Linked DNA regions of Homo sapiens: all the other regions are linked to region 2. The links are contacts of gene promoters, found by promoter capture Hi-C in blood cells and fetal thymus (Javierre and others, 2016). All regions are on one chromosome and are shown on one strand. The core of a region is centred on a gene start or on the middle of the fragment in contact, and the rest is flanking DNA. Distances in the headings are between cores, read along the strand shown.

Region 1 (4,370 bases), core at 756-3,255, 230 kb before region 2:
CCCCCTCCACATGCACACTGCCTGGGTGGGGCTCATTCCTGCGGGTAAGGCCCGGGATCAGGAATGGCTGTCTTTCTTCTGCCCAGAGGGAGCTGCTTGTGGCTTGAGGTGGCCCTGAGACTGTGAGACAGGCCACTGGGAGGCCCAGGCTCTAGCAAAAGTGGGGATTTTTTTCTCTCCCTAGTTTTGGATCAGGTTTTTGAGGTTGTGCAAACGTAGGAATGAGGCCTTTCACCCCGTCAGTTGTCTGTCGGGCTGTGTCGCACAGTGGCCCCTCGGGACAGCCTACAGAGCTGCTGTCTCTTCCAGGCATTGCTGCAGGGCCTGCTGTCTCTGCTGTCCTGGGCCAGGCGCTGAGTTCTGTCGCGGAAAGTCTGAGGGCAGAGCTGGGAGGGCAGCGTTTCCAAAGCAAATGGAAAAGGCAAACGGGAACGTGGCGGGCAGGGTGGGCAGGGCAGCCTGGAAACACCCTTTGTCCCATGCAGCTCATTCACTCGGCCAGGATTTGCCGAGTGGCTTACTGCACTCTGTGGCCCTGAACCAGGGCTGGGGGATCTCAGGGACATGTGTGTCCACAGAGATGGTCACCTGCCACCTCCACCATCACAGATGCCATGAAGGCTGTGAAGGGAAACAGACCTGTAAGGCAGCGGAGCCGAGATGGGGTTGATGAGTGTCACCAGTCACAAGCAAGGTGTCTCTGTTCTCTCTTCTACATGTTGATCGAGGTATAACACCCAGGAAAGGACATCAAGTGTACAGTTTGAATTTTTGCACACACGTACACCCGTGTAACCCCCACACAGATCAAGATGTAGAACATTCCAGCACCCAGAAGTTTCCCCGTGCCCCTTCCCAGTCAGACCCCCCGACCCCAGGTCACCCCTGCCCTGACTTGCAGTGTAGAGCTCACCCGGCCACTTCCTCTTTTGCCCACAGCAGGTGAGGAGGGCCTTCTACTGGGAAAAACTGTGACTATTAATTTAGGTTTAAAATGTATTGGTAACAGGCAGATCTGGCCAGTCCCTCCCTGGCTTCAATCTCCTTGGTAGCTTCCAGGATTACTCTTAGGAGGGACTGGAGGAAAAGCCCCTCTCTGTCCCCATGGCACCCACAGTGACCGTCACAGCCCTCCTCTGGGCCCTCACTGCCACCAGTGGACTCACTGTCTCCCTCTGCCCTGTGCACAGCTTCTTAATTTGGGTCCCTCTGGTTTAGCTCAGTGCAGCCAGAATTCACCCAGTGCCTATGTGAGTCGGGCACTGGGCTGGCCCAGGGGCCTTTGGAATGAAGGGGACAGTCGGTGAGCTGAGGTTGTCCCCAAATCAGAGGTGTGACCCTATGAGCAGCCAGGTTTTTAATTTTGTAATTGAGATATTCACATGCCATACAATTCCTCTTAAAATACACAATTCAGTGGTCTTTAGGTTTTTAATATATTCACAATGCTGTGCAACTATCACCTCTAATTCCAGAATATTCTGTCACTCCAAAGAGAAACCCTGTACCCATTAGCAGTGACTTCCCACTCCCCACACCCCCAGCCCCTAGCAGCCTCCAGCCTCTTTCAATCTCTGTGGATTCGCCCGCTCTGGGCATTTCATGTAAATGGAATCAGACGATACATGGTCTTTTGTGTCTGACTCCATTCACTTTGCTTAATGTCTTGACCGTTCATCTGTGTTACGGTGTGTATCAGAGTTTCACTTCTTTTTGTGGCTGAGTAATATTCCACTATGTGGATAGGCCACATTTTGTTGATCTGTTATCAGCTGATGGACATTTGGATTGCTTCCTGATATGGTTTGGCTGCATCCCAACCCAAATCTCGTCTCGAATTCCCATGTGTTGTGGGAGGTAATTGAATCACGGGGGCAGGTCTTTCCCATGTTGTTCTGTTCTGGTGATAGTGAATTAGTCTCACAAGATCAGATGGTTTTAAAAAGCGGAGTTGCCCTGCACACGCTCTCTTCTCTTGTCTGCCGCCATGTGAGACATGCCTTTCACCTTCTGCCGTGACGGTGAGGCCTCCCCAGTCACGTGGAACTGTAAGTGCATTAAACCTCTTTCTTTTGTAAACTGCCCAGTCTCTCTGGTATGTCTTTATCAGCAGTGTGAAAACGGACTGATACACTTCCACTTTTTGGCTATTGGGAATAGTGGTGCTGTGAACACTAATGTATAGGTTTTTGTGTGGACACGTTTCCAGTTGTCTTGGATATATACCTAGTTGTGGAATTCCTGGCTCATGTGGTAATTCATGTTTAACTTTTTGAGTAACGAGCGGCCATTTTTAAAGACTGGATAGGAATATGTAAGGAAGAAAGTAAATTTATTCACTTCCGTTCAGGAAATTTACCTACCAAACAACATGCTGAATGGGAACCTTTAGGGGCTTGGCTGAATGGCCCTGCACAAGGTGTCCAGGATGCACTGCCTAAAAGCTGTGGACCCTGTGCCTGGGAGGAGGACCAGCAAAGGGCAGAGCCCCCCGTGTTTCAGATGGAAAGGTTAAGTAATGTGACTCTGGTAATGCAGTCCAGTTCATTTATGAGATCATGGACCTCTTATACTACAGACTTTTTGTGTTTTTTTGCTGAGTCTTTTGCTCCCTAACCGTGTTCCCTGGCTGGCCACCCTGCCAGCACCACGCTGGTCCTCAGGAAGCATCATCAGTCAGAGACACAGGCCTTTGCTGTGGCCTCACATGCTAGCAGAGGAAGATAGACAACATGGCGATGGATGAGGAAGTTGGGTTGTCTGTAAGAGGATGAGAAGGGCTGTCATTAAACAGGTGGGTTCAGGTGGGTCTCATTGAACCATGAGATTTGAACCAAGACCTAGGGGGGTGAGTGAGGGGTTGGGGAAGGGAGATTAATGCGAGTTCTGGGGAAGGAACATTCCAGGTGAGGAAACAGCCACTGCAGAGCCCCTTGGGTGTTGGAGGAAGACACTCAGGTGGCTGGAGGGGTAGGGGAAGCATTGGCAGGGAGAGGCCAGGGCTGGCAGGCCTGCCGAAGGCTTTGCTTCTCTTCTGCCAGGCTGGCCATCACGGGCCTTGCACAGAAGAGAGCAATGACCTGCCTTCAGGTTTCAAAAGGTCCCTCTGGCCGCTGTTTGAGAGAAGGTCACAGTGGGATGAGGGCAGAGCAGGGGGACTGCTCAGGAGGCTTTTGCAGTAACCGACGGAGTGGTGGCGGTCACTGGCACCGAGAAGTGTACATGCTGCAAAGAAAATACTCTGTTCAGGAGACCAGGTGCGGTGGCTCACGCCTGTAATCCCAGCACTTTGGGAGGCCGAGGTGGGTGGACCACTTGAGGTCAGGAATTCGAGACCAGCCTGGCCAATATGCTGAAACCCTGTCAATACTAAAGATACAAACATTAGCTGGGCGTGGTGGTGGGTGCCTGTAATCCCAGCTGCTCGGGAGGCTGAGGCAGGAGAATCGCTTGAACCCAGGAGGTGGAGGTTGCAGTAAACCGAGATCACGCCATTGCACTCCAGCCTGGGCGACAGAGCGAGACTCCATCTCAAAAAAAGAAAGAAAGTAAGAAAGGAAAGGAAAGAAAAGAAAAAAAAGAAGGAAGGGAGGGAGGAAGGAAGGGAGGGAGGGAGAAAGGAGGAAGGGAGGGAGGGAGGAAGAGGGGAGGTGGGGAGGGCTCTGTTCACATAATAAAGAAATCCAGAGGTTTGACCATGGGCGTCATTTCATCACTGCACTTGGCAGAGGTCATCGCTGCTGCTCCCATCCAGCTCAGTCCTGTGGTCCCTGTCGTGTGTAGAAACACATACTCTGTACGTTGCTGGGATCATAGCAGAATATCAGCTCCACCAATCCTGGTTCCTCAATGGCGACACCCACGCACTCAGGGCATGTATCAGTGTGCATGGAGTTGCCTCGCGTTCAACTGCGTGGTGTGGGTAACGCAGTTGTGCCATTGTGTGTCTCACAATTCCCAGACTGGTAAATAATGTTGCTTCTAGTTTTTTGCTACTTAAGCAGTGTCACAGTGAACATTCTTTTATAAACGTGTTTGTGTTTTAAAAATAAGCTTATTTTGGAATAATTTCATATGTACAGAAAAGTTATGGAGTTAGGATGTTTTCATCCACTCTTCATCCAGTTTCCTCTGTGAACACCTCACACATCTGTGGTACATTTGTTACAACCAAGAAACTGACATTGGTACCCACACTATTCATGAGACACCAGACTTTATTTGGATTTTTTTCTTTTTGAGATGGGGTCTTACTCTGTCATTCAGGCTGGAGTGCAGTGGCACAGATCATAGCTCACTATAGTCTCCACCTCAAGTGATCCTCCCGCCTCAGCCTCCCAAGTAGGTGGGAGTACAGGTGCACGCCCCCA
Region 2 (3,952 bases), core at 224-2,723:
AGTTTTTGTATTTTCAATAGAGATGGGCAGAGGGGAGTGGGCAGGGTCTCACCATGTTGGCCAGGCTGGTCTTGAACTCCTTGTCAGGCCTCTGAGCCCAAGCTAAGCCATCATATCCCCTGTGGCCTGCACGTATACATCCAGATGGCCTGAAGTAACTGAAGAATCACAAAAGAAGTGAAAATGACCGGTTCCTGCCTTAACTGATGACATTACCTTGTGAAATTCCTTCTCCTGGCTTAGAAGCTCCCCGACTGAGCACCTTGTAACCCCCGCCCCTTCCCACCAGAGAACAACCCCCTTTGACTGTAATTTTCCACTACCTACCCAAATCCTATAAATCGGCCCCACCCCTATCTCCCTTGCTGACTCTCTTTTCGGACTCAGCCCGCCTGCACCCAGTTGAAATAAACAGCCTTGTTGCTCACACAAAGCCTGTTTGGTGGTCTCTTCACACAAACGCGCATAACACTCCTGACCTCAGGTTAACACTCCCCACACACGCCCCCCCCTCCCAAAGTGCTGGGATTACAGGCATGAGCCACCGCGCCCGGCCTCAAATGTTGGCTTTTTGTTTTGTTTTGTTTTTGAGACGGAGTCTTGGTCTGTCACCCAGGCTGGAGTGCAGTGGCGCGATCTCGGCTCACTGCAAGCTCCGCCTTCCAGGTTCACGCCATTCTCCTGCCTCAGCCTCCTGAGTAGCTGGGACTACAGGAGCCCGCCACCACGTCCGGCTAATTTTTTGTATTTTTAGTAGAGACGGGGTTTCACCGTGTAAGCCAGGATGGTCTCAAACTCCTGACCTCGTGATCCGCCCACCTCGGCCTCCCAAAGTGCTGGGATTACAGGCGCGAGCCACCACGCTCAGCCTAAATGTTGGCCTTTTTTTTTTTTTTTTTTTTTTTTTTTTGAGACGAAGCTTCGCTCTTGCTGCCCAGGCTGGAGTGCAATGGCACGATCTCGACTCACCGCAACCTCCGCCTCCCGGGTTCAAGCCATTCCCCTCCCTCAGCCTCCCGAGTAGCTGAGATTACAGGCATGTGCCACCACGCCCGGCTAGTTTTTGTATTTTCAATATAGACAGGGTTTCTCCATGTTGGTCAGGCTGGTCTCGAACTCCTGACCTCAGGTGATCCGCCCGCCTCGGCCTCCCAAAGTGCTGGGATTACAGGCGTGAGCCACTGCGCCCGGCTAGAATGTTGTCTTTTAATACTAAGGTTTCACTTGCAAAGGGAAAGAACTGTTTGCGGAACTATCAACCGCTGTCTGAGGCGTGTCGGGAGCGACACCCCTGCGGAGGATACGGTGCCGGGGTCCTTCCGATCGCAAAAACCGGCGTTCCTCAGCCTTCAAGACTGTGAGCGCTCAGGGCCCTCGGCCGCTGCCCGCCGCAGACTCCACTTCCCATGATGCCAAGGGGTCGGGCCGTCCGGAAGGCCGTGTGCCCTCCGCGGGGCATGATGGGGTAGCTGGAGATTTCCATCATGGCGGCGTCCATTTCGGGCTACACCTTCAGTGCTGTGTGTTTCCACAGCGCCAACAGCAACGCGGACCACGTAGGTGCCGGGCCCCCTGCCGCGCCCGCTGGGGGCTTTCAGCCTCTGTCTCAGGCCGGCGCTCGCGGCCAAGCCGGGACCTCATGCGGCTCGCCCCCTGGGCACCAGGGCCGGCCGGAGGAGCTGGTGACCCGGGCGGCTCCCGCCCCCGGTGAGCTCTTGCCTCTGGGGGCTCCTTCGCCCCTGGGACAGGCCCCCTGGCTTCGCGCTCTCAGCCGCTCGGCCGTCCCGGCACAGCCGTCTCCCGTGCAGCAAAACTGTCCCACCTGGCCTCCTGCAGTGTCAGGAGTCGCTCGGTGGAAACCGAGCGCCTGCCCCTCCCTGAAAGTCAGGCTTCTAGACTTAAGAGGGGCGCACGGGGTCGGGAAGGAATCTAAAGGCCGGGCGTTTAGTCCAGTAGGCGAGGTACTCAGCCCCGCCCGCCGGTCTCGCAGGTTGTCGTGGGGGTGCTGCGAGTGAAACCGTGGCTGTCACTACTGATACTTGTTAGACACGGTTGTGTGTTTTCTTCGCCCTGATGCAAAATGGAGAATGTATACAGGAGCGTTCGGTGCAGGGTCTATTTTGTATTTCCTTGAAGTTGCGTGTTTAGTTCTTTGTGACTAGTTCTTTCACTAGTCACAGTGAAATAGGGAAGTGACAGGCCCACTACTGAGTGATGGGAAATGCATAGGCTGTGAGCCCACAGGAGGAGCAGATCCTGTCTGTTTCAGTGTCTTTATTTTACAAATTGTCTTTTAACGTCATTGGCCTCTGATTGGAAATGCTTTGTGAAACTAGATCACTTCTCTCTTAAAGGAGGTATATAATTTGGCCACCAAATTGGGGGATTATTTTAAGTGATGTTAATAGTGAATGATTCAAACTCATTAAACCTATGTGTGGGGTTTTTGGTTGTCATTACAAAGCAAAATGGTACACTGCAGAAGGAGGAACTGCATTTGGTTTGATGTCAGCAATCTTAGCTTCCATTAATAAAAACTGATTTCACAGGGAGGTGATTCCATTAGTAAATTGAATGCAATTAAATTATTGTACCTTTCATCTCTTCAGTGTTGATGGTAGAACTTAATGATAGGAATAGGAATATATACATCATGGGTTTTTCCAGAAGCAGCTTTGAAGACTATGGCCTAGGGTACTACAACCAGCTATTTAATAATGTAATATAGTTCCATATGTAAGGGTTTGTGATACCCCTAGTGTCCATGGACTATTAAAAATGGGTCCTTTATTTCTTGAATGCCTACTAATATCACAGTTTATGTATATGGCAAGATTACTGTAAGAACAAGCAGCTACCTGTTGAAAAAAATTAATTCAAGAGATATCCCTTAATATCTACTCTGCAAGGCGTGGTGCTTGACTTCATAGAAATTTTCACCAATGCCAATAGTTTGCAACTGTGTTTTATATGACCATGCCTGTTTATATTAACTTTGCCACAATTATAGATGTGGAATCCTTGAAAATAATTTCAATTTTAAGGTTGAAGAACCAACAATTTACTTTTGTAGTACATACTTATTTTGTCCAGTCAAGAAATTAATTTAAAACCACTCATTTGTAGACCTGGGGCTACCATACTTTTCTGTACAGGGCCAGATAGTAAACTTTGTAGGCTTTGTAAGCCATATGGTCTCTATAGCAACTATTCAACTCTGCTATTATTGGGAGAAAGCATCTATAGACAATAAAAGATTCAAGTGACTCTTATTAGCTGGACACGGTAGCTCATGCCTGTAATCCCAGCACTTTGGGAGGCTGAGGCGGGCAGATCACCTGAGGTCAGGAGTTCAAGACCAGCCTGACCAACAAGGAGAAACCCCGTCTCTACTGAAAATATAAAATTAGCCAGGCGTGGTGGCACATGCCTGTAATCCCAGCTACTAGGGAGGCTGAGGCAGGAAAATCGCTTGAACCCGGGAGGCAAAGGTTGTGGTGAGTCGAGATCGCGCCATTGCACTCCAGCCTGGGCTACAAAAATAATAATAATAAAATAACATAGAAACCATTTTTAGCTTACAGGCCGTACATTAATAAGCATTAGGCTGGAATTAGTCCCCATGCCATAGTTTGCCAACTCCTACTATAAAGGAACATTGGCTCAGATAATCCAGACCAGTAGATGTATAAACATTCCACTTGTACTTGGCTTTAGAATGTCCTTTTAAAAAAAAAATTACAGACAAGGTCTTGCTATGTGGCCCAGGCTGATCTCAAACTCCTGGCCTTAAGCGATCTTCCGTTTTTGGCCTCTTAAAGTGTTGAGATTACAGGCGTGACCCACCGCATCTGACCTAGAATTTCTTGATGTCACTGTTGAGTTATATCATTATTCCACAAATGGAAGACTGTTGTAGGGTTACCAGATGAAATACAGCACACTCAGTTAA
Region 3 (3,879 bases), core at 218-2,717, 180 kb before region 2:
AAGGGGCTGGTAAGGGCCAGAGGTAATTCCAGGGCCACTCTGTGCCCTACCCTCAGGTGGGGCACAAGGGTGGGGGCACTGCGCTGGGTAGAAGCCCCCCGCCAGCCCCTGGCCCACCAGTCATCTGTCAGATACGGAGGCAGGGGTGAGGGGAGGGTGTGCTGGGGAAGTCAATGCATCCAGCCTCGAATCAGTGAGTCCCTAGGCCTTGGGTAAGGCAGGGCTGCAGGGATGGCAGTGAGGACAAGGGGCTCACCTCCCCCCAGCAGCCCCACTTCACATGTTTGTTTCTTGAGTTCAGTGCTCATAGACTTAAAAAAAAAAAATCTTGCTAAAAGCAAAAACCAAAAGAAAAGCGGGGGCTACAGAGCCTCATTCCCAGAGGGGCTGCTCTGGCCCTAACAAGCATTCTAGGCCAGACTTCCATGGGCAGATTGTGTGGGCAAGTGTTGAGTTATGGAAATCAAGCAAACCTCTCCACGCCTGTCCTCCAGGCCGCAAACACGCCCTTCTCCTGAGTCCGGGTAAGCAGAGGGCCATGCACGGGAGACAGTGGGCCACGCCGGGCTGGGCTTCGTGCTTCTGGGGCCCCCGCAACTCACTCACGCAGCAGAAGTCTGCACTGTGCTGCCTGCAGCGGGGGCAGAAACCCGGAGCCAGTGAGCCTGTCTGTGCCACCTCAGCTACCCTGGTGGGTGGGTGGTGGGGGCCATCCCAGGCCCCTCAGGGCTGCAGGCCAGGCTGGGCCCATCTCCGCACGCTGCTGTGTGGCCTCACCTCCCAGCGCTGTCGAAGGCTGAGCTGCTGTGCTCGGAAGGGCAGACTCCTCCATGGCTTCTAACTCAAGTGACACAAGGAGTGTCTCCCCACTGCTGTCCTGGGGCTCCTGGCCCTAGAAGGGCTCCCCATGATGCAGCTGTGGCCATGGGCAGCCTTCCCCCGTCCCCCGGCGTCTCCACAGCTCTGTGATGTCTGCTAGCCCCATTTTATCGATTCAGACCCCGAGGCTTGGAGGGGACAGAAGGGTCCAGTCTAGGTCTCTCTGCGCCCAGAGCTAATGCTCCTGTGAGCAGGGGGGACCTGCCAGTTCACCACACCCAACAGAAACCACACAGCTGGCACCAGGCACTTGGGTATTGAACCAGGAAGCTTTATTTACACAGTACAAGTAACAAGCAAATTCCTGAGAGACTAGAGCGGCTGGAGTGCAAGCCACAGCCTGTGCGGGGAGGCCAGGCTGCAGGGGCGGGCAGACCCTGGGCCCCGGGTCTACGCTTTCTGGTCGCCACACTTCCTGAAGCACGGCAACACCCACAACATCCAGCTCAGGGAAGCCCCTGCAGCCCCAGAAACAGCCTATGTGCTATCTGTCGCCCCAGCCCCCAGGACAGCTTCCCCACACACTGAAAACACAAATCATTTGCCAAAAAGACTATGCTAGAAGGTCAGACTATCCTATCTAGGCTACAAGATCTCCACTTCGGTCTGCCATTAAAAAAAAAAAAAATCTTTCTCTTCTTTTCTCTTTAAAGAGGCATGACAGAGGGGTTTGACCAACAGCGTGGACATGGCAAGGTGTGGCATCATTGCCAGTGTGGGGCCAGAGGGTGCCCGAGCCCCGGTGCGCGGCCAGCCTGCTGCATCCCTGCCGGCTGACGTCTGGAGTGACCGTCATTCCAGTGACCACCCCCATAGCCACAGACGGCACGTCAGTGGAAACGGGGGTGCAGCAGGCATGACACCAAGGCAGAGCCCGCAGCAGGGGGCCCGGGGTTCCACAGCTAGGGAAGCTTGCTCAGACAGGCAGCACACCCAGGGCACGGCCACTCACGCCCCCGCACCAGGAGACCCATTTGGAAGTTAGTTAGGGTTTGTTTTGTTTTCTTTTTAATGTGGACTTCCCCTTTATTTAAATTTTCTTTCAGTGTACAAATTCACAAAACTGGCTACAAAAATTTGGTTGAAAAGTAAGGCTTTCTGAGAATGAAAATCTGTACGTCTGGTCAGAACAAGCTCCCCACGGGCCCAGGTGCACGTCTGCCCGTGCAAATCCGGCCTCCACCGCGAGTAAGGCAAGAGGGTATGGCAACGAAAATGGCAAGGCTGTGGCCCCAGCCCCTGGGCCCCACGGGTGGACGGCAGCCCCTGGCAGTTTGGTGGCTTTGGAATGAGTGGGGTGCATGTGGCACTAAGCCCCCCCCACCGCCCCGGCTTTCCTGCAGGCTTAGCCCGCGCTTTAGGACCCCATGAGCAGGCAGATGGCCTGGCACGGCTTGCTTCTGGCTCTGCCCTTCCTCAGTCTCCCCTCAGAGGCAGGGTTTGTGGGCAAGGCTGTGACAAAAGTAAGGCTCCTGCCACTGCCCCCAGCTGGGGCCATCATGCTGGTGGGGGTGAGCTGTCTGCCTGCTGCCCATGGGGACACCAATGTGGGGGGCACCTCCTAGGCGAACCTCCCTCCCAGAGGACTGAGATCAGAAGTCCTGGGGCCAGCAGGGTGGAGTGCAGGAACAGGCTGCTCCGGGCAGTGTGGCAGCTTGGATGATGGGGTGGCACCTTATAGATAGGGTCTACTCCCTCCAGTCAAAACACAAACATGAAACCAGCTAAAGGCCATTTCTTTCTCTAAGCAGAAGGGATAGCCACCATTTTCTCCCCTGACTGCTGCGTGGTGGGCACAGGACAGGCAGGCGGGGTCTGAGGAGGCTGGGTCATTTCTCCCTAAGCGCCCTGGGGCTGGGCTTGCTGGTCGATGGGACCAGCTTGCGGGGAGGTGGGGAGGTGGCTGTGACTCAGCCAGCTCCACAGCTTGTCCCTTCCTGCCACCAGGCCTGAATGGGGAGGTGGCAGGCAAGGTTTGAGGGCAGGTCACCCACACCCCAGTCCCACGACATATACCTGTCACCATGTGCCTCCCACCCCAGCCCTAAGCAAAGGTAGCTGGGGGCTGCTGCATGCCTCAGCCTCAGCTGGCACCGTCCACCTCCCTCACTGCCTCTGCCTTCCACAGGAAGGCCTGCTATAGAGGCTGTGTGCCCTCGGCCACACCGGGCATGTGGTGCCAGGACCCCCCACGCCCAGTGGTACTCCGGGGGCAAGACATGGCCATGTGCTCTCCACATTCACCCAACAACTGCCCTGGCCGCCTCCACATTTGCTCTAAGAAGACATGGTCTCCATGACCCCCAGGCAGGGACAGGCCAAGATGTCTCTGTCTGCTCAGAGCCACCAGCTCTTGGGTTCGGCTGTCCGGGATCACAAGTAGACATGCCTCCGGCAGGAGCTACAGCAACCAGAGGTGAGCTGGTTCCCCGGCTCTGGGACCTGCCCAGTGCCCGGCATACCCCATGTGTCAGCCACCTGAGCTAGCAACACCATCTCTCAGGGCTGTGGGGCTGGGGGCTTTCTGCCAGCTCCTTAAAGCTGATTTTTAAGAAGTGCCACCCACATATTGGGAACTTGAACCACCATCCTTTTGATGTAGTAAAAAAATAAGATTTAAACAACGTTTCCCAAAAAGCATCTTTCTTGAGGAGAAAGAAGGTGAGAAGCATCTGGACTCAACCTGCAGAAGCGAGGCGTTCACTCGTCCATGAAGACGAGCAAAAGCAAAGTGACTACAAAAGTGCTTTGAACGCGCGTGTCAGCCAACACAAGGGAGCGCACCAGTTATTTTTAGCCTTATGGGAAAATGAGCCACTTGCTCCTAAGCCAGCCCAATTGCTATTGTTTGCAGAAGACGCCACATTCGCTAAAAGCCAGATTCCCATAGAGCAGAGCCCATGTGGTGGTGTCTGCAAGGCAGCCGGAGAGGAGCTACAAACCTTGAGAGGAGAGCAAACCCTCAGGGGGCTAGGCTCCTCGGATGCCCCAGGGTGAGGA
Region 4 (3,870 bases), core at 361-2,860, 250 kb before region 2:
TTGGGTGTCCTGATTTCTTTGAGAGAAGACGAGCTGAGCAGGCACAGCTCTTAATCCTCCAGCCACTGCCCCCCAGGCTGGGGCCTGCCAGCCCCCGCCCCTGTAGTCATTTCTAAATCGGGTCTAGATGGACTGGACGCGTGGCTGCCAGAGACCATTTGAACCCCCTACCTCCAAATTCCCCAAGGTCCCCGCCTGCAAAGGACCAGCCCCAGCATGAGGCCCTGAAAGTGGCAACATTTCAATAGCCTATCCTGGACAATCAGGACGATCCCTTTACTAATTTATATGCTATACGTTTGGGGTTTAATTGGAGCGTAATTGTAATCCATATGCTGTTAAGGTAATTACACTTATAAACCTAATATAATCCATAGATCAATGGGTTTGGAGCTAATTAAGGCAACCGTAATTAACATTTACCAAAAACCTTGCAATTACTGGAATATCCTTTAAGCTGGCCTTCCGAGCTGATAATGAGCGCCGCTCAGCGCTCCGCGGCCTCCTAGCGTGTCTTTATTCTGCACAAGGGGGCCTTCTGGGGACCTCGATGTTGGGAGGGCAGTCAGTGCCTGCTTTTAGCACCCAGGGACTCTGATCAGGGACCCAGCTGATGAGTGGCAGCACCATGGGAAGCCAGGTCCCTGTGACTTGGCCATCCCCAGAACACGGCTGATTTTCTGGCTCAATAGACTCAGCCTGACAAAGGGGAACTTGGAGAAAGAGAACAAGAAATCCATATGCTGAGCTGGGACAGAACCCAAGTGGGGTTCTCATGTGGGGAGCATATGGGGCTTTCCTCCTGCCCACCCCCTGCACCTGCAGCCAGGATGCACCTGAGCTCGGACTGCCCTGAAACCCCAGGAAAATCCCAACAGCGGCACCATAGGGCCAGGATTACAGCCATTCTTTTTTTTTTTTTTTTTTTTTTTTTTTGAGACGGAGTCTCGCTCTGTCGCCCAGGCTGGAGTGCCGTGGCACAATCTCAGCTCACTGCAAGCTCCGCCTCCCGGGTTCACGCCATTCTCCTGCCTCAGCCTCCCGAGTAGCTGGGACTACAGGTGCCCGCCACCACGCCTGGCTAATTTTTTGTATTTTTTAGTAGAGACAGGGTTTCACCGTGTTAGCCAGGATGGTCTCGATCTCCTGACCTTGTGATCCGCCCGCCTCGGCCTCCCAAAGTGCCGGGATTACAGGCGTGAGCCACCACGCCCGGCCTACAGCCATTCTTGAATGTTGTATGACTCCCGGTGATATTGTCACCTTGGGAGCTGCACAGAGACCTCCCCCGGGCCAGGCCCCTCCTCTGTCTGCAGAAGGAGGTAAGGGGCCCACCACATCTGTCTTACCACAGGCTAAGCTGTTGGCATCTGTTCTTTTCCTGCTCCAGGAGGGACAGAGCCCCCCTGTTGTCCTTGCGGCACCATGCTCTGGGAACTGGGCGCTCCTGTGGACAGCTCCATGTGAGTCTTCTTCGAGAGACTCCACTGCAGATAGAAGAAGGCCTCGAGCCTGTAGTTGCGGGGCGGTGGTCAGCCTGGGCTGCCTGGATTCAGCTCCTGCTCTGACATTTACAGCTGGGACGACCTGGGCCAGGTAGAGGTTTTTCAACCTAAGACTCAGTTTATTATGTATTTATTCATTTATTCATTTTATTTATTTATTGACAGGGTCTTGCTCTGTCACCTAGGCTGGAGTGCAGTGGTGCAATCATGGCTCACTGCAGCCTTGACCTTCTGGACTCAAGTGATCCTCCCACCTCCGCCTCCTGGGTAGGATGCATGCCTGAGGTGGGACTACTGGCATGCACCACCACACCGGCTAGTTTTTAAAATTCTTGCAGAGACAGGGTCTCCCTGTGTGGCCCAGGCTGGTCTTGAACTGGGCTCAAGTGATCCTCCTGCCTTGGCCTTCCAAAATACTGGGATTACAGGCATGAGCCACTACACCCGGCCTGGACTCAGTTTCTATAATGGGATATGGCAGTTTAATAATGTGCATGCAGTGCTTAGCCTAGTGCCCGGTGCAGAGCCACTGCTTCATTAATGCTGCTGCTGCTGTCCTTGTCATCTCTATCATTGACAGCCCTAGACGAGCTGAAGGGGTGGGCCCAGGTGGGAGGGGCCAGGTGGGCGGGGCCAGGTGGGCTGTCTGCACCTCGCTTACTCCTGGGTGGGCTGTTAGCTTGGCGGGTCCCAGGGCTCACTTTTGCCCCATCATCATTTCTGTACACTTTTTCCATCTCTGGGCCTTAGGGCCTTTCCAAAGACTTTGCAACTCTGGCAGATATTTCTAGACAGAATTAGGTTCTTTAACGAAGGAATGAGGCAAATGTGGACAGGAGATTGTTCATAATTGCGGCTGTCATTTATTGAGCACCTGCTGTGTGCTCTTAGCCTCTGGGCTAAACACTGCACAGACATAATTCACTGATTGCCAACAGCAGCTTTATGCGGCTGGCATTTTAGTCTCACTTTAGGGTGAGGAAACTGAGGCTCAGAGAGGCTGAATCACTGGTTTGAGTACGTCCAGCGAGAGGGCAGCTGGGCCAGGATTTGAAGCCAGCCATTCTCAACACCACTGTGCTCTCTGCCTCCCGAGTGGAGGCCCTGACCCCTTTGCTCTCTTCCTGGGTGGGCCAGTGGGGATGGGTGAGGGGTGAGTGTGTCAATGTTTCCCTCAGCCCAGTAGTGGAGAACAGGCAGGGTGGGCGAACTCCTGGCTGGACCACAGCCACAGGCCTGCAGGAGGCACCCTTGCCAGGGCGAGTGAGCACTGTAGTCTGGGAGACCCTAGAGTGAGATGGGGGCTCTACAAGGCACAGCTCCTCCCTGGAGGAAGGGAGGAAGGGAGGGTCCCTGCCTTACAGGGCCTGGCCCTCCCCACTTGTCCAAAGCCCGGCTGGGTCCTGGTGTGTCAGCGCTTTGCAGTACACCCTGTGCTACCCACCCAACCTGTGTCCCCGTCTGATCTCCCTGGACCCTCCCACAGCCTGGGAAGGGTCCCCCAGCTGTGAGGTCAGCATGGGGGACCTTGCTCTGCAGAGGGCACCTGTAGGGCTGGCCTTATTGGAGTCCCTCCTTTCTAGGCCCACAGTCCTGCGCTGCCTGGTGTGCGGGGCCTGAATGTCATTGTTTCATATATTTTATCTGATTTTCTAGTTGCTTTAAGGTACTTTGTCTATCTTGACTGTTAGGCTCTTTATTTTTCAAAAAAAAATTCAATATAATAGTTTGCATTTTTTCTTATTGATAATAAAACCACTGACATTATTGAGCTCTTGTTCTGGGCTCAGTTCTGCCCCGAGCTGTTTGTACATGTTACCTTGCTGAACCTGCACCCAAGTCCTCAGGCCATATTCCCCCTTACAGATGAATGAAGTCACTGGCCCGAGGTCACACAGCTGGGACGTAGTGCAACCAGGCTGGGCCCTAGCTGGTTGACCCCAGTGCCCACTATTTATTTGGTGCTTACATGCACTGGCTCATTTTGTCTCTACAGCCTTGCAAAGGCCACAGTTATGAGATGGCAGAGGTGGTATTCAAATTCAGGCCCCTAAACTTGTGTCTGTGTTCCCTCTTGAAAACTTCAGTAAACTGAAGAAGTGAAAGGCAGAGGGTAAACCACCGACCAGCCCACCATCCAGAGGTGACGGTGACCTCTGATGCCGCTGGGTGTCCACCTTCCAAACTGTGTGCACAAATGTGTCCTCTGTGTTCTAGTCCACAGGTGAGGTCAGGAGCACAGGCTGTTTTGGGACATCTCTTCCCAGTGCCCAGTTCCAGAACACCCTTCCAAACCACCGTGCATTCTCCGGGGCCATCGTTTTAATGGCTGCACCCTGCTCCCGCGTGTGGACGCATCCTAAAC
Region 5 (4,228 bases), core at 1-2,500, 170 kb after region 2:
AACTTTTCATTTTTCAATTCATTGACAGTTGAAAACATCCTCCAGAATGCGTTTTGTCAGTTGGCATTGAATAAATACACCAAACACCAAACGTTTCTAAAATCTTTCATCTGAGATTCTGAGATCTGTTTGTTTTGTTGCTGTTTTTTTTTTTTTTAGATTGAAACGGGGTCTTGCTCTGTTGCCCAGGCTAGAGTGCAATGGGCGTGATCATAGCTTACTGCGCCTTCAACTTCTGGGCTCAAGTGATCTCCTGCCTTGACCTCCTGAGTAGCTAGGACTATAGGCACATGCCACCCACCCCTGGCTAATTTTTAATTTTTTTGTAGAGATGGAGTCTCGCAGTATTACTCAGGCTAGATCTCAGTGTTTTTAATTTTTATGTTCAGACAAACGGATTTTTACAAATTGTAGGAGATAGTAACTAAGTTTTCTGAAACTGGAGGAAGTTTCATTTGAAATGCACTTGTTCTGAGTATTTAAGCTTACCCCAGAATGATTAGATTTTTAAAAATTTATTTTTTATTTTTATTTTTTGAGACAGGGTCTTACTCTATCGCCTAGGCTGGAGTGCGGTGGCAGGATCACGGCTCATTGCAGCCTTGGCCTCCCCAGGCTCAAACAGTTCTCTCACCGTAGCCTCCTGAGTAGCTGGGACACAGGTGTCTGCTGCCTTGTCTGATTAATTTTTGTATATTTTTTGTATAGAGACAGGGTTTTGCCGTGTTGCCCAGGCTGGGCTCAGAATCCTGAGTTCAAGCAGTATGCTGGCCTCAGCCTCCCAAAGTGCTGGAATTATAGGCGTGAGCCATTGCACCCGGCCCAGAAAAGAAATATTTTATATCACACATGTTACACTGGTATATTAAGAAAAAGCTATCTGATAACCTTCAATGGAAAGGGAGTTATTTTAGAGAAAGTTACTAGTAGGTAATTAATAAGTGTAATTAAGTATAAGTTAAGTGTAAGTTATGAAACAAAAGATCTTTTAAGTTTGCATTTTCTTTGTAGATATTGAAGATTTGCCCCCAACAGTCCAAGAAAAATTATTTGATGAGGTGCTTGATAGAGACGTTCAAAAAGGTAAGCATGGAATTAATGAGTATAATTTACCTTTCATCTGATCAAGTAAGTTTTGTTTAGTAAGGCATGGTGTAGTTTGGTGTGTAGTCAACTTGCTTTATTTTTATTTTAAATTAAAGACGTAAAGTCCTGAAGTTCAGTGTTATATTGTATGGTTCACTGTTACAGAGTGAACAAATAAAGATACAAAAATTTTAAAACCTTGGTTCTCCGCTTCCTGTTCCAGAATGTATATATTTCTATATGAAACACTTTTTAGAAAATAAAACTGTAAAGAATTTAAAAGTTTATTAAATTATTCTAGAGACAGAAGATGTTTCAAGTACTCAAAAGTTTATATTTCAATTGGTCAATTTTATTTAGGTGTTTATTGGTAAATTACATATAAACCATTTTATAGCTAGAAAATAGGTTCTTCTCCCCATGAGTATTCTCTAATGACATAGGTATGGAAATGAACATGTATTTAAATCCATCGTACAGAATTAGAAGAAGAATCTCCAATTATTAACTGGTCCTTGGAATTGGCTACACGTTTGGACAGTCGACTGTATGCACTTTGGAACCGGACTGCAGGAGACTGCCTACTTGATTCAGTTCTACAAGCTACCTGGGGCATCTATGACAAGGACTCAGTGCTTCGGAAAGCCCTGCATGACAGCCTGCATGACTGTTCACATTGGTGAGCTGGCATTCTGCCCTGTTTCAACCCAGGAGTGCATTTGCTGGATTATTTCCTTGTAGTGGTGGGATACTTTTTATGTCAGTTATATTTTCTATGGAAACTGGAGGAAAAACAGTTCATTTTGGACATTAAAATACTTTGAACACGTCCATGGTTTCTGTTTTTGTTTTTCCCCCAAGAAATGAGATAAAAGCAAGAATCAATGGTTTTTATACATTTTTTTGCTAAATTTTAAAATAGAAACATTTGAAGCTTTAAAATGCAAGCATTTATTGTTTCTATAAGACACAGGCAGTATATTTGAACATTTCAAATGCAGCATTTCAAGTTATATATAGTAGCCTTAAATATTGATAAGGCCGTTGCTCATCTTTTTAGGGATTGATTGACTGATTGATTGATTGATCCATCGATGGAAGCAGGGTCTGGCTCAATTGCTGTGCTGGAGTGCAGTGGTGCAGTCTTGGCCCACTGCATCCTCCACCTCCTGGGCTCAAGCCATCCATCCACCTCAGCCTCCTGAGTAGCTAGAACTACAGGTGCTCATCACCATGCCTGGCTGTTTTATGTATTTTTGGTAGAGATGGAGTTTTGCCATCTTTCCCAGGGTGGCTTTGATAATCCTGATCTCAAGCGATCCGCCTGCCTGGGGCCCCCAAAGTGCTTGGATGACAGGCCTGAGCTGCCGCACCCAGCCTTATTGAATATTTGTGTTCACATAAGAGGTTATCTTGACATTGTGTTACAAGTTTTTTTCCTTCCTGAGGGAGTCTTAAGATCACATTTTTTATTTTGCAAATTTTCAAACCCATGGAATAATTTTAAAAAAATTCAGTGCAATAGATCCTGGTATTTTCTTCATTCAGTTGAGCAGTTATTAACATTTTGCCACACCTGCTCCATGTCTCCATACAGAAAGACTCGTGGGTCAATTCGTTGTAGACATCATGATGCTTTACCCTTCAAAATATCAACATACATCTTTCCAGAATAAGAATATTGTCCTACTCACCCACATCCCCATTCCTACATCTAAGTAATTCAACATTGATTCTGTTATCTAACAGTTCATAATCACATTTCTTCAATTGTATCAAAGTGTTCTTTATATATATATTTTTTAACAGCATGCAATCACTGGAAAAATAATTGTTTTTGTGAATGAATAGTTCAGTCTTTACATTTGTTTGACTTATGTGGTATTTTTTTGGTTCTTTGAACATTATCTCATTTAGTTATTACAGGCATGAGCCACCGTGCCCGGCCTATAAATTACTTTCTTGAGAGCTAAATTGTAGATCAAAGCATAATGCAGTATGGCTGGGGTTTGTGGCTCATGCCTGCAATCCTATTGCTTTGGGAGGCTGAGGCAGGCAGATCATTTGAGGCCAGGAGTTCAAGACCAGCCTGGCCAACTTGTTGAAACCCTGTCTCTACTAAAAATACAAAAATTAGCCAGGTGTGGTGGTGCATGCCTATAATCCCAGCTATTCAGGAAGCTGAGGCACGAGAATTGCTTAAATCCAGGAGGAAGAGGAGGTTGCAGCGAGCCAAGATCGTGCCACAGCACTCCAGCCTGGGTGACAGAGTGAGACTGTCTTGTGGGGAGCGGAGGGGGAAGCATAACGTAATAGAGTAACAATTTGTGGGCACATTAGAGAAATAAAATAACTTCCTGGATGACCTGACTGGATGTATAATAAAGCTAAAGAATGAATGTGTCACTCCGGTAGTTTTAGTCAATTAGTAATTGTCCTGGAGAGAGGGCTCTTTTGTGCCTCTTAGTGGAGATGGCTGTCTGGTAGTATGAAGTAGGTTCATCGGGCTGGGTAAGCCTGATGCTGGTCAGTGCTCTGCCGGTCTGGCCCTCTTGATCAGATCCTGTGGTCACCAAGCAGCTTCCTGTTGCTGATTTTCTTAGCTTCCTACTGCTGATTTTCTTGACCACTGCTATGGGCCTGTCTATGTCAAGAGGATGAACCTGGTTTGGTTCCTAAGACAGTGGGTTCTTGGCATTGTGGTTTCACAGGTCTGCCTTGTAGTTTTGGTTAATGTCACTCTGCCCTGTAAGATGGAAAGCCAGGTTTGAACTGTGGTAAATCTACCACTTTGCAGGTTCTCTCTAAAAAGGCAGCCAGTAATCTTTTCTTTGGTGGTAATTTCCTTTTTTTTTTTTTTTTTTTTTTTTGAGGCAGAGTCTTACTCTGTCGCCCAGGCTGGAGTGCAGTGGCATGATCTCGGCTCACTGCAACCTCTGCCTCCCGGGTTCAAGCAATTCTCGTGCCTCAGCCTTCGAAGTAGCTGGGATTACAGGTGGCGCCACCATACCTGGCTAATTTTTTGTATTTTTAGTAGAGATGGGGTTTCACCATGTTGCCCAGGCTGGTCTCGAACTCCTGAGCTCAGGCAGTCCGCCCACCTCGACCTCCCAAAGTGCTAGGATTACAGGCGTGAGCCACC
Region 6 (4,031 bases), core at 81-2,580, 210 kb before region 2:
CCTGTGGACCTCCTCTTTGTACGATCAGTTTTAATTACGCAAAAAAATTATGCAGTTAAAGCTTTGCTCATTTAAACAGACCTTCCCTGGATTAAGAGTAATTAGGTTTTATTGTCATTGTCTTGAAAATTGCCTTGCCATGGACCTGTGAACACAGAATTATTTATATATGTGTGCATAGAAATCATCTCATGGATTTTTTTTTAACTGAGATGAACTTGGGGGATTTTAAAGGTAACAAACAACCCCTTCTGGCTGGTGTGGGGGAAGCCCTAATTTGTAGTGCTTGCTACTTTTTTTTTTTTTTTTTTTTTTGAGACAGTGTTTTGCTCTCGTCACCCAGGCTAGAGTGCAACGGCACAATCTTCACTCATTGTAAAACCTCCGTCTCCCGGGTTCCAGCGATTCTCCTGCCTCAGCCTCCCGAGTAGCTGGGATTACAGGCACCTGCCACCACACCCGGCTAATTATTTTTGTATTTTCAGTAGAGATGGGGTTTGGCCATGTTGGCCAGGCTGGTCTCGAACTCCTGGCCTCAAGTGATCCGCCCGCCTCAGCCTCCCAAAGTGCTGGGATTGCAAGCATAAGCCACCGCGCCCGGCCTCCACTTTCTGTGGTGTAAATATTCCTACCATGGCTGATTTCCTCTGGGGAAGCCATGTCCCCTCCACTTCTACCTTCATGGTCTTTGCTTGTTTATTTTCAAATGTGGCCCAAATCCACCCTGAGGCAGGCGCAGTGGCTCACGTCTGTAATCCCAGCACTTTGGGAGGCCGAGACGGGCGGATCACCTGAGGTCGAGAGTTTGAGCCAGCCTGACTAACACGGGGAAACCCCGTCTCTACTAAAAACACAAAAATTAGCCAGGCATGGTGGCACACTCCTGTAATCCCAGCCACTCGGGAGGCTGAGGCAGGAGAATCGCTGGAACCTAGGAGGTGGAGATTGCAGTGAGCCAAGATCATGCCACTGCACTCCAGCCTGGGAGACACAGCCAGACTCCATCTAAAAAAAAAAAAAAAAAAAAAAAAAAACCAAAAAAACCCACCCTGAGTTTAAAAGAAAAAGGCTAAGAAATGCTTGCTGGGCTGTCTCAGGGGTGGCAGTGGAGCTCCCGTGCCTCCCACAGATGAGGACGTGGAGGCCCTGGCCGAGTGCTGAATGCAGGTTGGGGGACAGGGCTGCCGGCCTCTGTAAGGATGGGGACCCCAGACCCACCCGGTGGAGCTGGGGCTGAAGGCCGTGATAAACACAGCCTCACCCTGGCATTGCCCACCTCCACTGGCCACCAGCTTTGACGGACAGCCCCACTGCCACTGCCCCTCTCCAGGCAGGCCACATTCACAGGTGTTCTGTACAGAGAGCAGAAGTTTGAGAAAACGTGACCCACTGAACAGACACTTGCTGAGGCCCGGGGGCTTCATGTGTCAGGCCCAGAGGTGGCCACAGGCACAACACGCGTCCCTCAGCCTTGCCACCTCTGCTGCCCTCCAAGGTGCCCTGGGTCCAGCTGGCCAGAAGCACTGCTTTCTGGAGCAGCCACTTATGCTTTTACTTTTTTCTCTTCTTTTTTTTTTTAAGACTGAGTCTTGCTCTGTTGCCCAGGCTGGAGTGCAGTGGCACAATCTTGGCTCACTGCATTCTCCAGTTCAAGTGATTCTCCTGCCTCAGCCTCCTGAGTAGCTGAGATTACAGGCATCTGCCACCATGCCCGGCTAATTTTTGTATTTTTAGTAGAGATGGAATTTCGCCATGTTGACCAGACTAGTCTTGAACTCCTGACCCCAAGTGATCCGCCCGCCCAAAGTGCTGGGATTACAGGCGTGAGCCACAGTGCCCGGCCCAGCTTTTTCATTTTGAAATCAATACAAGTTTTTACAGATGTCTGCAAAAAATATCCATATTGATGGATCCTGGCTCCTCAGAATCTGAGGTTTTTACAAATGTCTGCAAAAAATATCCATATTGATGGATCCTGGCTCCTCAGAATCTGAGGTGACAGCAGCTTGCAGAGGACACTGCTCCCCCAACACTGCCTTCCAAGGGAGACATGCCCTACCCCAAGGCCTCCCTTGTCCCCTCCCTCCTCTGACAGTCAGGTCCAGGGGGTCCTGGAGAGGGCACTGGCCCACCCTCCACACATGTTGCACAGTGCCCTGGGAATGAGGAAGGAAGGGCAAAGGTTAGGGAAAACCAGACGTCAGTTTCTTGACCAGCCACAGCCGGTGCAGCGCGGTTATTTATAGCCCTGGTGGAGCGCCCATAAATCAAGGCTTTCCCCAGCAGCGCGGCTGTGAGGGCTCCGAGATGATCTCATGGTGCCCCTCCCTTGAACCATCCCAGAGAAAGGAGGCCTGTCACCTTCAAGGACCAATGCTTCTGCCGGGACTCAAGCAGAACCTGTTCCTGCTGCTGCAAGGTTTACAGGCAGCCTTGGGGACAGTCCGTGCAGAAATGTCAGGAGCCTTTTCCTGCATAAGGCATCTCAGAGCTTATAGCACCTCCTTGGCGGTGGCCGTGCTCGCAGCCTGATACATGGGACCTCTGTCTCACTTGCAGTGTGCACCGCAGGTCCTAATTCCTTATCTGTTCCAACCACAAAAGCTTCCACTGCTGGATGGAGCCCTGTTATCATTCAGGCTTCTGAGCCACCTGGAAGGCAAAGGCCTCTCTGTGAAAATGAAAACTTGGCTTTAAAAAGCTGGCATGGGCTCAGCCATGGAGTTGCTTAGATGTAGTTCACAATCTCGCAGACCCACGGCAGGATTCCACCCAGGAGAAGGTCCTGGAGGTGGCCATGGGGCTCAGCAGAATGAGCCGGGAGGAGCAGGACTGTTGACACGAGAGCAGGGGTCAGGCTCAGTGCACAGGTCCCAGTGTGCAGAGCTCACCCGGCCCCAGCTTTCATCACCCATCTGAGATCGGCCTCCTTCACTCCTGTTCTCTGGGACTTCCTTGTGTGTTAGAGACTCGAGCAAGACCCTTTCTTGTCTATCCCCGGACGGACCCGCCTTTCCCGCATCTCTGGGGGTGAGGTCGGCTCTCGTTCAGGCCTGCAGGGTCCCTGGTGCCGCAGCCCCTCTGGTTGGAAGGCCCCCTGCGTGCAGCCCCGTCCTCCAGCCCCGCTCGGCTCTGAATGAGTTCATTATGTCTCAGCGCGCCCTGGCCGCCAGGCTGGCAGTTCTTCGGGCTGGCGGGGCTCGGGAGCTGTCAGCCTGCCAAATCCAGTTGTTTGACTTCATGTTTCAAGGCCAAATCCTTTCAGGAAAGTTCTCTCCATCCCACCACTCCACCGCCCCCCGCCCTTAGAAAAATAAATGCGTGATTGACTGGCTTTGCAGGTTTTTTATCCATCGTTCTTTCCAAAGAATAGTGTGAACAGCTCATTCGATTCGTTCATGTGACGTCCTCCCTCTCCCAATCCCTGTCTCTCTCTCTCCTTCCACAGCCACATGAAATTGAAGTGGGAGAACATGGTGTGTGAGCATTATTGGGGGTGGGGTGCGGAGCAGGCACTGGCTTTGGTTGAGGTCTGCAAAGGAAAGCACCCCCACTGCCAGGCTGCTCAGGAGTGGCTCCCACCCTCGACTGCGGGGAAGTGCTGGAACCCTCCGCACGAGGGCAACCTTTCTTGGGCTCTGAAGGCGCCTCTCATCCTCTGAGCCAAGAAGACTTCTGACCCAGAATTCTGAGTTGAGTTCCGACGCAGGCGTGGGCGATGGTGAGCAACTCCAGGCTACCCCGAGAAAGCCGCTGTGTGACCCCATTAGGGGACTTGGCTCTCCTGCCAAGCCCCCACCCAGCACCTGTCCCTTGTGTCATGACTGGACTTGTTACTTCTAGCCCAGGAGCTCCAGGTGAAGGGGACTGTGTTGGTCCTGTCTGCCCAGGACTCTCCCCACCCGCACAGTGTACCTGTCCCACAGTGGCACCAACAAGGCTCAGCTGAGCCCTTGCCAGAGGAGACACGGTGGGCACCAGCCCCAGCGCTGCCACCTGCCTGCCTCCTCTGCCACCGAGGGAAGCCATGT

What was found. Contacts are between HindIII fragments. The CHiCAGO score rates a contact against its expected background, and 5 or more counts as called.
Region 1: a contact is called between a fragment that was not itself captured here and the fragment with the promoter of ABRAXAS2 in region 2, in 9 of 17 cell types (naive CD4 T cells, non-activated CD4 T cells, total CD4 T cells and 6 more). The highest score is 7.7, in naive CD4 T cells.
Region 3: a fragment that was not itself captured here is called in contact with the fragment with the promoter of ABRAXAS2 in region 2 in 4 of 17 cell types (naive CD4 T cells, non-activated CD4 T cells, activated CD4 T cells and 1 more); the score reaches 7.0 in naive CD4 T cells.
Region 4: a fragment that was not itself captured here is called in contact with the fragment with the promoter of ABRAXAS2 in region 2 in 13 of 17 cell types (non-activated CD4 T cells, naive CD8 T cells, naive CD4 T cells and 10 more); the score reaches 12.7 in non-activated CD4 T cells.
Region 5: a contact is called between a fragment that was not itself captured here and the fragment with the promoter of ABRAXAS2 in region 2, in 1 of 17 cell types (erythroblasts). The highest score is 5.2, in erythroblasts.
Region 6: a contact is called between a fragment that was not itself captured here and the fragment with the promoter of ABRAXAS2 in region 2, in 4 of 17 cell types (naive CD8 T cells, fetal thymus, non-activated CD4 T cells and 1 more). The highest score is 6.9, in naive CD8 T cells.

Annotation. Positions count from the first base shown.
Region 1 is chr10:124,569,098-124,573,467 of GRCh38, forward strand. All of the region lies in intron 6 of LHPP (phospholysine phosphohistidine inorganic pyrophosphate phosphatase), which reads left to right. Among named protein-coding and RNA genes, the nearest start is that of LHPP, 110 kb to the left of the region's middle. The HindIII fragment of the contact is 4,091 bases long and covers 1-4,051 here.
Region 2 is chr10:124,800,346-124,804,297 of GRCh38, forward strand. It overlaps ABRAXAS2 (abraxas 2, BRISC complex subunit), which reads left to right and starts at 1,474. Exons shown (of 9, transcript NM_032182.4): 1 at 1,474-1,556. The coding sequence starts at 1,485. RefSeq lists enhancers at 1,073-1,627, 1,300-1,569, 1,628-2,181 and a silencer at 1,670-1,749. The HindIII fragment of the contact is 5,454 bases long and covers 918-3,952 here.
Region 3 is chr10:124,618,163-124,622,041 of GRCh38, forward strand. FAM53B (family with sequence similarity 53 member B) reads right to left here. Exons shown (of 5, transcript NM_014661.4): 5 at 1,130-3,879. Among named protein-coding and RNA genes, the nearest start is that of FAM53B-AS1, 84 kb to the right of the region's middle. RefSeq lists enhancers at 2,047-2,176, 3,529-3,879. The HindIII fragment of the contact is 641 bases long and covers 1,148-1,788 here.
Region 4 is chr10:124,552,541-124,556,410 of GRCh38, forward strand. All of the region lies in intron 6 of LHPP (phospholysine phosphohistidine inorganic pyrophosphate phosphatase), which reads left to right. Among named protein-coding and RNA genes, the nearest start is that of LHPP, 93 kb to the left of the region's middle. The HindIII fragment of the contact is 9,226 bases long and covers 1-3,870 here.
Region 5 is chr10:124,972,634-124,976,861 of GRCh38, forward strand. ZRANB1 (zinc finger RANBP2-type containing 1) reads left to right here. Exons shown (of 9, transcript NM_017580.3): 4 at 1,012-1,083; 5 at 1,567-1,765. Among named protein-coding and RNA genes, the nearest start is that of ZRANB1, 33 kb to the left of the region's middle. The HindIII fragment of the contact is 1,536 bases long and covers 483-2,018 here.
Region 6 is chr10:124,586,732-124,590,762 of GRCh38, forward strand. The region is part of intron 6 of LHPP (phospholysine phosphohistidine inorganic pyrophosphate phosphatase); the gene reads left to right. Among named protein-coding and RNA genes, the nearest start is that of FAM53B-AS1, 120 kb to the right of the region's middle. The HindIII fragment of the contact is 2,543 bases long and covers 60-2,602 here.